Linked DNA regions of Homo sapiens: region 1 is linked to region 2. The links are contacts of gene promoters, found by promoter capture Hi-C in human tissues and cell types (Jung and others, 2019). All regions are on one chromosome and are shown on one strand. Each heading gives the region's core, a stretch centred on a gene start or on the middle of the fragment in contact. The rest is flanking DNA. Distances are from core to core; before and after follow the strand shown.

Region 1 (4,042 bases), core at 629-3,128, 710 kb after region 2:
GTGTGGCCCCAGGCAGGCCCACCTCTGGCCCTGAAGCTGTGGGTGGCCCCCTGAACCCTTCCCAAGGTCCCTGGACTCTGCCTTCCTCTCCATAGGGCACAGGAGGACCTGAATGAAAAGCAGAAATTCAGCCCCCTTTAGGCTGGCCCAGCCCAGAATTCATCAGAAAAGATGCTGAGTCCAGGGCTGTTTCAGGGCTGTGGACAAACAGGGAGGGAATGGGAATCTGTCCAGTTGCCACCAAAGAAAACACCCAGAAATGCCAGTAGCAGTCTCCCTGACCCCTCCTGCCATTCCATGGCCCTCTTGGGGAGCAGAGACCCAGAGGGGCAGGAGCAGGCATGTCGCCTGGGCAGCACAGCAGCCTAGCCTTCAGGCACTCCACAGAGGGAGGACAGAGGGGTGCTGCCTCCAATGCCACACCCTGGGGCAAACCAGCCAAGGGGCAGCGGCTGGACCATGGGGGCATCTCCAGCCTGGCCTGGGCCCAGAGCAAAAAGTCCTTATTTGGGGTCCAGGGATGGGGAGTCCCAGCTTTCAGCAAACAGGCAGGGTTGGGAGGACAGCTTACCAAGGCCATTCCAGCTATAGCATGAGTCTGGAGGAGCAGTGGCAGGGAGGGGCAGGGCTACATAGCTCTGCAGGGGCTCAACCAGACCTGCCAGCTAAAGGGTGGGAGACAGGAGCACTGGAACCAAGGGTGGGGGTGCTGGAGGAAGCTAGGGGAGGCCTTTCCCAGGGGCTCCCCATTCCCCATGGGTCTCCAGCCCTGGAATTTCCATAGCTCTGGGCCTCTGTACCTGTGTCCCTGACTGGATGGCCCCCACTGGGGCACTCCAGCCCGTCTCCTGGACTCTGTCCTGCGTCAGTGGGGGTCAGATGAGCCCCATCTTCCATAAGTGGAGGGGACGCTCAGAGGTGAAGGGGCACAACGTCGCCCAGGCAGAGAAGGCCAGAGCCAGCTTGAACAAAGCTGGACATCCATGCCAGACTCACCGCCAACACCCCACAGCCCCAGAATTCTCGGGATAATGCTGGGAGCAGTGCTGTGATCGGCTGTGGCAGGAGGGAGCTGAGTCTGTGAGAAGGGATCCCAGCCTGCTGCCCCCACAGCCCCATCTAACCCGGCCAACCTAGCACCTGTCCCCAGGCGGCCAGAGGGGCCTCCCCAGCCCACGTGGTGACCAGCGGCCACCCTCCAGGACTCGGGAAACTGGATCTGTCAGGGCAGGGCTGCCTTCAGTGACAGACGGAGCCAACTGCTTCCTTCTATGGAGCCAGGGGAGAAGTCGGGGGTTGGGGGCCCCCTGTAGCCCTGGAGGAGCCCTGGGGAGGGCAGCTGGGCATCGTGGGCCCCACCCAAGCAGGCACGGCCAGCCCTGGCGCCTACTCCCCAGGGGAATCTGCCCAGTGCTGTGAGCCCCCCATGCACAGCGCACCTGCTCTCCTGCAGCTGCCTGGCCGCCTGGAGGGCCCGGCTCTACAGGCCCAGCCCTGTCCCGGGGCGCTTCAGCAGACTGGTGGGGCTATCCTGGGGCATGGCCCCAGACACGCTGGGCAGGTGCAGCTGCCAGCGCTGCCTCTCCCGTGACTGTCCCCTGCACCCCACAGTTCTCCCCACTCTGCACCCACCAGTGCCTTCTAGACCTAAGACCTCATATGCCTCCTGCTTTCTGAACCCAGGGCCTGTGCTTCTCCATGGCCCCACGGCCCTGGGTGAGCGGCCTCTCTGAAGGTTTCCCTTCCTGCCATGACGCCCCCACAGCCTTCTGGCCACAACCCGTCACCTCTTCCAAGCTCCGTCCCTACCCGCCTCTCTACCCACTCCTCGAATAGAGAGGACTCAAAGGACGCTCTACCCCCGTGGGACCCTCATGAGGCGCGTGAGGAGGCCCGACCCTCCACACATGCTGGGAACGAGGAAGTTGGCCCCACAGACACTGGTCAGGCCCTCCCAACCCCAGGCCACCGCCACGTAGTCAGGGTCTCCCACGGGTCTGGGAAGGGCAGGAGAGCCACGACTCAGGCAGGGGACTCTCTTCAGAGGGGCAGTGAGTGAGGACAGCACCTGGCCCTTTAGAGGGAAGGAGACACCGTGCTCTTAGAGGGACACAGCCTCAGGGTCAGGCCCTGGTGCTCCGCACTTCCTAAAACAAAGCTGCGGCAGGCCCACCTAGCATCCATCTGTCTGCTCCATCTCCTCTCAGCCGGCCTGACAAGAACCAAACTCACAAAACACCCCGGCCCCAGGAGACAGGCCTGGCCTCACTGCTGTCCCACTCAGCCATGCCGAGCCAGGACAAGGGGCCAGCAGGGCCGCAGCTCTCAGACCATCCCCTTGGTTATTTCGTCTATGTTCTCTGCTCACCCCCAACCACAAATGCCGAGGACTGCAGGACGCCCCCAGGCCTGTTGCCGGGACAGACCGGAGGCAGAGCTAAGAGCAAAGCGTGGGCATGCAGCACATCTGTCTGTGAGTCCACAGCCCACGGAGCCACCGTGCTTGACCCTTGCCTCCTACCCAGCCCCTGGTACCAGCGAGGGCCTGGTCAGCATACCCAGGGCTCTGTCCTGTGGTGTGGGCAGATGGGGGCGGGTGGCACCCTGGACCCGCAGGCTCACACAGCTGCCCCTTTGCACATTTTGCTCCTTGTGGGATTGTCAGGCCAAGGCTCCAGTGACGCATGGCACAGGGAGGGCATCCTCTCAGCCGCTTATAGTAGATTCTTCCTTCTGCCACATGACAGGTTATAGCTACAATACTCAGCACTCCTGCAGGGGCCGGGCACCTCACACAGATGCATCTGTGCCTCATCTCGGTCAGTGCTCACACGGAGGCTAAGGCCGTCCCGCCCCAGAGTCCCACAGCTCCCAGGTACCGACTCTTAGTCCCAGGTCCTCACAGGTGCACTGAGGGCACTCCCTCTGCCCCAGACTCCAGGCCTGGCCAGCAGCCGCCTCTGCAGATCACACCCGAGTCCACTGGGTGCTTTGCAAAATGCTGCAGCTGGTTATCAAGCCACACTCAGAAAGATCCAGCCGGCGACTCCTGAACATCACTGCACCCTCAGCGGGACACTTTTCCAAGTGGCTGGAAAAGTTGTCTCCCACAATACCGGATTAACTTCTGACGAACTCAGTACCTTGGGGGCCTGCGGCAAGGAGGGGGGCGGGGGCATGTTCCACGCCCCATCTTCCCAACACCAGGCTCCGAAGGCCCTGTGAGGAGGCAGCCTGCGAACTGACTCTCAGGGAACAGCCACAGACTGGTGCGAGACGCAGACAGCCAACAGCACGGACACAACAGGGTCCGAGCCTCCAGCCACACGCACAGGTCCTGGCTCCACTGCGAGCTCAATCAGGAGTGGCCAGAAGACTTACAATTTAAACCACCAACAGGTGAATGGCCCAAAGTGACACTTTCTCTTTAAAAGAGCTCTCGGTCAGGCATGGTGGCTCACACCTGTAATCTCAGCACTTTGGGAGGCTGAGATGGGTGGATCACCTGAGGTCAGGAGTTCAAGACCAGCCCGGCCAACATGGCGAAACCCCATCTTTACTAAAAAATTAAAAAAAATTAAAAAAAATAGCCAGGCGTGGTGGCGGGCACCTGTAATCCCAGCTACTTGGCAGGCTGAGCCAGGGAGAATTGCTTGAACCCAGGAGGTGGAGGTTGCAGTGAAGGGAAATCATGCCATTACACACCAGCCTGGGCAACAGAGTGATACTCTGTCTCAAAATAAGTAAATAAATAAATGAGCTCTCAAGCATCTTGGCCGAGCATGGTGGCTCACGCTTGTAATCCCAGCACTTCAGGAGGCAGAGACGGGTGGGTCACTCACGGCCAAGAGTTTGAGACCAGCCTGGCCAACATGGTGAAACGCCATCTCTACTAAAAATACAAACAAACAAACAAATAAGCAAGCCCTCAAGCCTCTCAGATGGCAGGAGCCCAGGAACCAGAGCAGGGAGGCCCGGGCACAGGGGCCCATGATGTCTGTGCCCATGATTTCACAGGAAGGAGAATAGGCAAAGAAAACCC
Region 2 (4,146 bases), core at 908-3,407:
AGTCCTCATGAAGATTCAGCAGAACAGGCACAGATAACCTCACAACGTGGCTTGATACATGGCAAGCACTAAGTACATGCTAGCTTCCATCCTCATCATCATCGCTTATGGAGCCTGCCAGGTCTGCAGCAGCCAGGAGGGATCCAGCCCAATCTGATGCAGCTGTAGCTGCAGTGGTCAGCAGGCTTGCAGGCCCCAGTGCTGACCGCTCCACCTGCCTGGAGGCCCCCCCCCACTTCTCCCCTCAGTCTGCTTTTCTCCTGCTCATTGGCTGTGTGCCAGGCCCCGAGGTAACTGTTTTACACAGATAAACTCACCAGTCATCACAAGGACCCCACCATGCAGGAGAAACTGAGGCACTAAAAAGTGAAATCTCCATCCAAATCCATACTGTTAGTAAGGGCTGGACGTGCCATTATTTGGTTTGCTTATCTACTGACCAGCTCCCTGTGCACTGGGTGCTTCCTGCCTAGAACACTATTCACTCGCGCTGCTCAGCCCCTGGCCTCTCCTGTCTCCACCCCTTCTCAGACTCTGCTCCCCTTGGTGGGCCACCCCACCCCCACCTTGGCGGTCTTGATGATCTCGGTGAAGTTGTCCATGATGGACTTAATGTCGTCCTTCAGCCGCTTGTTGTAGGACTGCAGCAGCGTCTCCTTGCTCTGGGGCAGGGCTCTCTGCTGGGCCATGGCCGAGCCTCAAGCAGCGCAGCGGGGAGACCTGGGACCTAGAGTGCAGCACAGACCTCTGAGTGCAGGCAGAGTCTACCCCAGCCACCCTCTATGCCCCAACCTTAGCAGAACACGCAGATTTCTGGGGATTCCCTTTCTGCCAAATAAAGTCAATCACTGAAACACAGATGAACTCATTCCATCAGCAGACACCGCAGGGGGTGCCAGGACTGGCCCCGCCTTTGCCAGAGCAAGCTCATCCTGGAACTCCTGGCCAGCCCTCCAAGCCCTGTCCAGGGCTCCAGTCCAGACTTCACGTCCAGGCCCACAGCGTGTCCCAGGGAGCCCTGCAAACTCAACACCAGCTCCCCGTCCCCAGCCCTTGGCTTAACTTCTTAGCCCGCCGCCACCTTCGCCACGCCCTCCCATCCGAAGAGTCCTTCCAATTCGACCCCTCTGCACCGCCTACATCCACGCTTTCCTTCCACTCCCACTCAGGCTGCCCCGCTCCAGACCTCATCCCTGCACTGCGGGCCCCGCTCCCTCCAGTCTCTGCGCGGCAGGGAAGAGGTCCTAAAAAGTGGTCATTCCAACCGGGCGCGGTGGCTCACGCCTGTAATCCCAGCACTTTGGGAGGCCGAGGCAGGGATCACCTGAGGTCAGGAGTTTGAGACTAGCCTGACCAACATGGTGAAACCCCAACTCTACTAAAAATACAAAAATTAGCCGGGCGTGATGGCAGGCGCCTGTAATCCCAGCTACTCGGGAGGCTGAGGCAGGAGAATCGCTTGAACCCGGGAAGCACAGGTCGCAGTGAGCCGAGATCGCGCCACTGCACTCCAGCCTGGGCGACAGGGGGAGACTACGTCTCCAAAAGAAAAAAAAAAGGGGGGTAATTCCACTCCCTCGCTTAACATCCCTCATGGTTCCCCGGTGCGCCGGGACAAGGGGCTCAAGTTCCGCGCCGCGCCTCTCGGCCTCTGCCCTCCAGCCGCACTGGACGGCCTCGGCGCTGGAGTTGCCTGGCCCTGGGGCCGGGCCTTTGCGCGCGGTGCTCAGGGAGGGCCCGGGGCCCCCTAGGTTCGGAGTCTGGCGCACGACCGAGCGGACTCCTGGACGCACTCGCATTGTTTGTGCCCATTTTTGGCGGGGTGTGGGAAATAAGTCACACGCAGGAAAGGGGATCTCCGACCCCAGCGCCTACGCACCCACCCACCCCCACTCCCGCCCACACACCCACCCCCCCTCCATCCCCACCCCCCACCACACCCTCATACCCGCCCCAGCGCCCGCACACCAGACGCCGCGTCCGCCGGGTCGGCCTAGGGCGGGGTGGTCAAGTGCCTCTGCGACCCGCACTTTCCCGCGTCTCTCCCACGGCCTGGCCCTCCCGCCGCAGTCTCTCTTCCCCGCCGCGCCGCGGTCCGAAAACCTAGTCAGCCGCCGCAGCCTCTCGGCCCCGCCTCGATTTTTAGCTTTATAGGAATGCTGTTGCTTTAAATCCGAAATCCCGTGCCGGTATCAACTCTCGCGATCTCCGAGGCCGCATACATATTACCCACAATTCCCTTTCCTTTCTCTCTCCTCCCGCCGCCCAAGATGGTGAGTGAGCTGTAGTTCCGTGGCACTATAGCCAGGTTCCGGCTGTATCCGCTGCCATCCTCCTCCAGGCGCGGCCTCGGAGGGCCTCCTGCTCCTCCTGGCGCTAGGAGAGCCCCACTCGGTGTGGCACGGAGACACCGAGGTGGATTAGAGCCCCACTTGGTGTGGCACGGAGACATTGAGATGGACTAGAGCCCCGGGCGGCCGAGAGCGGAATGCGTTGTTCCCGGTGTCGCAGGGCTGGGTGTCGCAGGCCTGGAGCACCGCAGTGCGGGGCTCGGAGCCCTAGCGTCTCTCGGGCTTGCTGGGGGCCGCTCCAGAGGCCTTGTGAGCGACGAGTTCTGAGCCCGCCCCTGTTGCTTCTAGAGCCTGTGGGGCCGCGACTCAGAGGAGTCATGAGTCCGGGGTGTCTCCTGGGTGGGCGACGCGAAGAGAGCGTGGTCTCGGGCTTAGCCTTGCTCTGGCCACTCGGGGTTCCCGGGGCTGCATGCTTGTGCGGCTGAATGTGAGATGCTCCTGTCGAGGGGTGGTGCTGGGGGGTTGCAGAAAGCTGCTCGCCAGCTTAGTTCAGGCAGGTGCTGTCAGCGTCCCTTGTTTTGGAGGAGCCAGCCTGAGCCCTACCCCCGACGAAGCGAGTGGAGGCGGCGGTTTAACTGACGTTTTCTTTCTGCCCAGCCGAAAGGAAAGAAGGCCAAGGGAAAGAAGGTGGCTCCGGCCCCAGCTGTCGTGAAGAAGCAGGAGGCTAAGAAAGTGGTGAATCCCCTGTTTGAGAAAAGGCCTAAGAATTTTGGCATTGGTAAGTAACAAACGGCAGAATGAAAACGGTCTATGTTTTTCTCAAGGGAAGGTGGTAATTGGGTTGTGTTGTATCTTGTAGGTTTTAGTGGGTGTAAAGTGGTCGCAGTCCTTAATTTGTGTCTCTTAGAGACGGGGGCAATGATACATGCTTCTTGCTTTCATTGGGAGTTGCTGAGCGAGCATTCAGCTCAATATGGTAGTGGCCTTGAATTCAGCTTAGCCATCTGGAAACAAGTACAGTAGCAGTGTCGCAGCGAGGTACTAGGACTGCAATTCTGCTGTACTTCGTGGCACCTTGGCTTCTTGTTAGATGAGGAAAAGCATCGTGCTCTTTGTTCTCAGGTGTTTGTGTGCAGATGATGTAAAAGAATATTTGCTATCTGAGAGATGGTGATGACATTTTAAACCACCAAGATCGCTGATGCACCAACACCCTTCCTAGTGGCCCCAGACATGAACTTGACATGGAATTTGAGCCTCACTCGGTGTCACCCTTTACTTCTCAGGACAGGACATCCAGCCCAAAAGAGACCTCACCCGCTTTGTGAAATGGCCCCGCTATATCAGGTTGCAGCGGCAGAGAGCCATCCTCTATAAGCGGCTGAAAGTGCCTCCTGCGATTAACCAGTTCACCCAGGCCCTGGACCGCCAAACAGGTGAGGTTCTGTGGCGTGGAAAGGAGTTTCTCAGGCAAGGATTCCTTATTTCATCCAGAACATGAGGGGGATGGTCTTAGGCTTCTTGAACTGCAGTTGTCATTAAATTATAGTCATATAGCAGGACCGCAGTCCAGCATTTGTTATTAAGTGTTAAGTGACAAGGATTAGAACCTTGACTCCAAGCCTAAACTGAAGAGTGTTTTTCCAGCTACTCAGCTGCTTAAGCTGGCCCACAAGTACAGACCAGAGACAAAGCAAGAGAAGAAGCAGAGACTGTTGGCCCGGGCCGAGAAGAAGGCTGCTGGCAAAGGGGACGTCCCAACGAAGAGACCACCTGTCCTTCGAGCAGGTGAGTAGGCCCCACCTTAGGGTGAACACTGGGGGCGGGCTGTTGCAGTGATGTAAAATTTCTTGGC

The links. Contacts are between HindIII fragments. The study calls those that stand out against the background at their distance.
Region 1: a contact is called between a fragment that was not itself captured here and the fragment with the promoter of MED22 in region 2, in 1 of the 25 tissues and cell types used here (dorsolateral prefrontal cortex).

Annotation. Positions count from the first base shown.
Region 1 is chr9:134,060,805-134,064,846 of GRCh38, forward strand. The region is part of intron 1 of BRD3 (bromodomain containing 3); the gene reads right to left. Among named protein-coding and RNA genes, the nearest start is that of BRD3, 5.2 kb to the right of the region's middle. RefSeq lists an enhancer at 1,785-2,696. The HindIII fragment of the contact is 7,576 bases long and covers 1-4,042 here.
Region 2 is chr9:133,345,974-133,350,119 of GRCh38, forward strand. It overlaps MED22 (mediator complex subunit 22), which reads right to left and starts at 2,158. Exons shown (of 5, transcript NM_133640.5): 1 at 1,949-2,158; 2 at 567-727. The coding sequence starts at 689. RPL7A (ribosomal protein L7a) reads left to right here and starts at 2,245. Exons shown (of 8, transcript NM_000972.3): 1 at 2,245-2,273; 2 at 2,949-3,069; 3 at 3,578-3,727; 4 at 3,939-4,079. The coding sequence starts at 2,271. It overlaps SNORD24 (small nucleolar RNA, C/D box 24), which reads left to right and starts at 3,423; the gene lies at 3,423-3,497. SNORD36B (small nucleolar RNA, C/D box 36B) reads left to right here and starts at 4,121; the gene lies at 4,121-4,146. RefSeq lists enhancers at 1-234, 235-736, 2,041-2,335, 2,197-2,666. The HindIII fragment of the contact is 21,529 bases long and covers 1-4,146 here.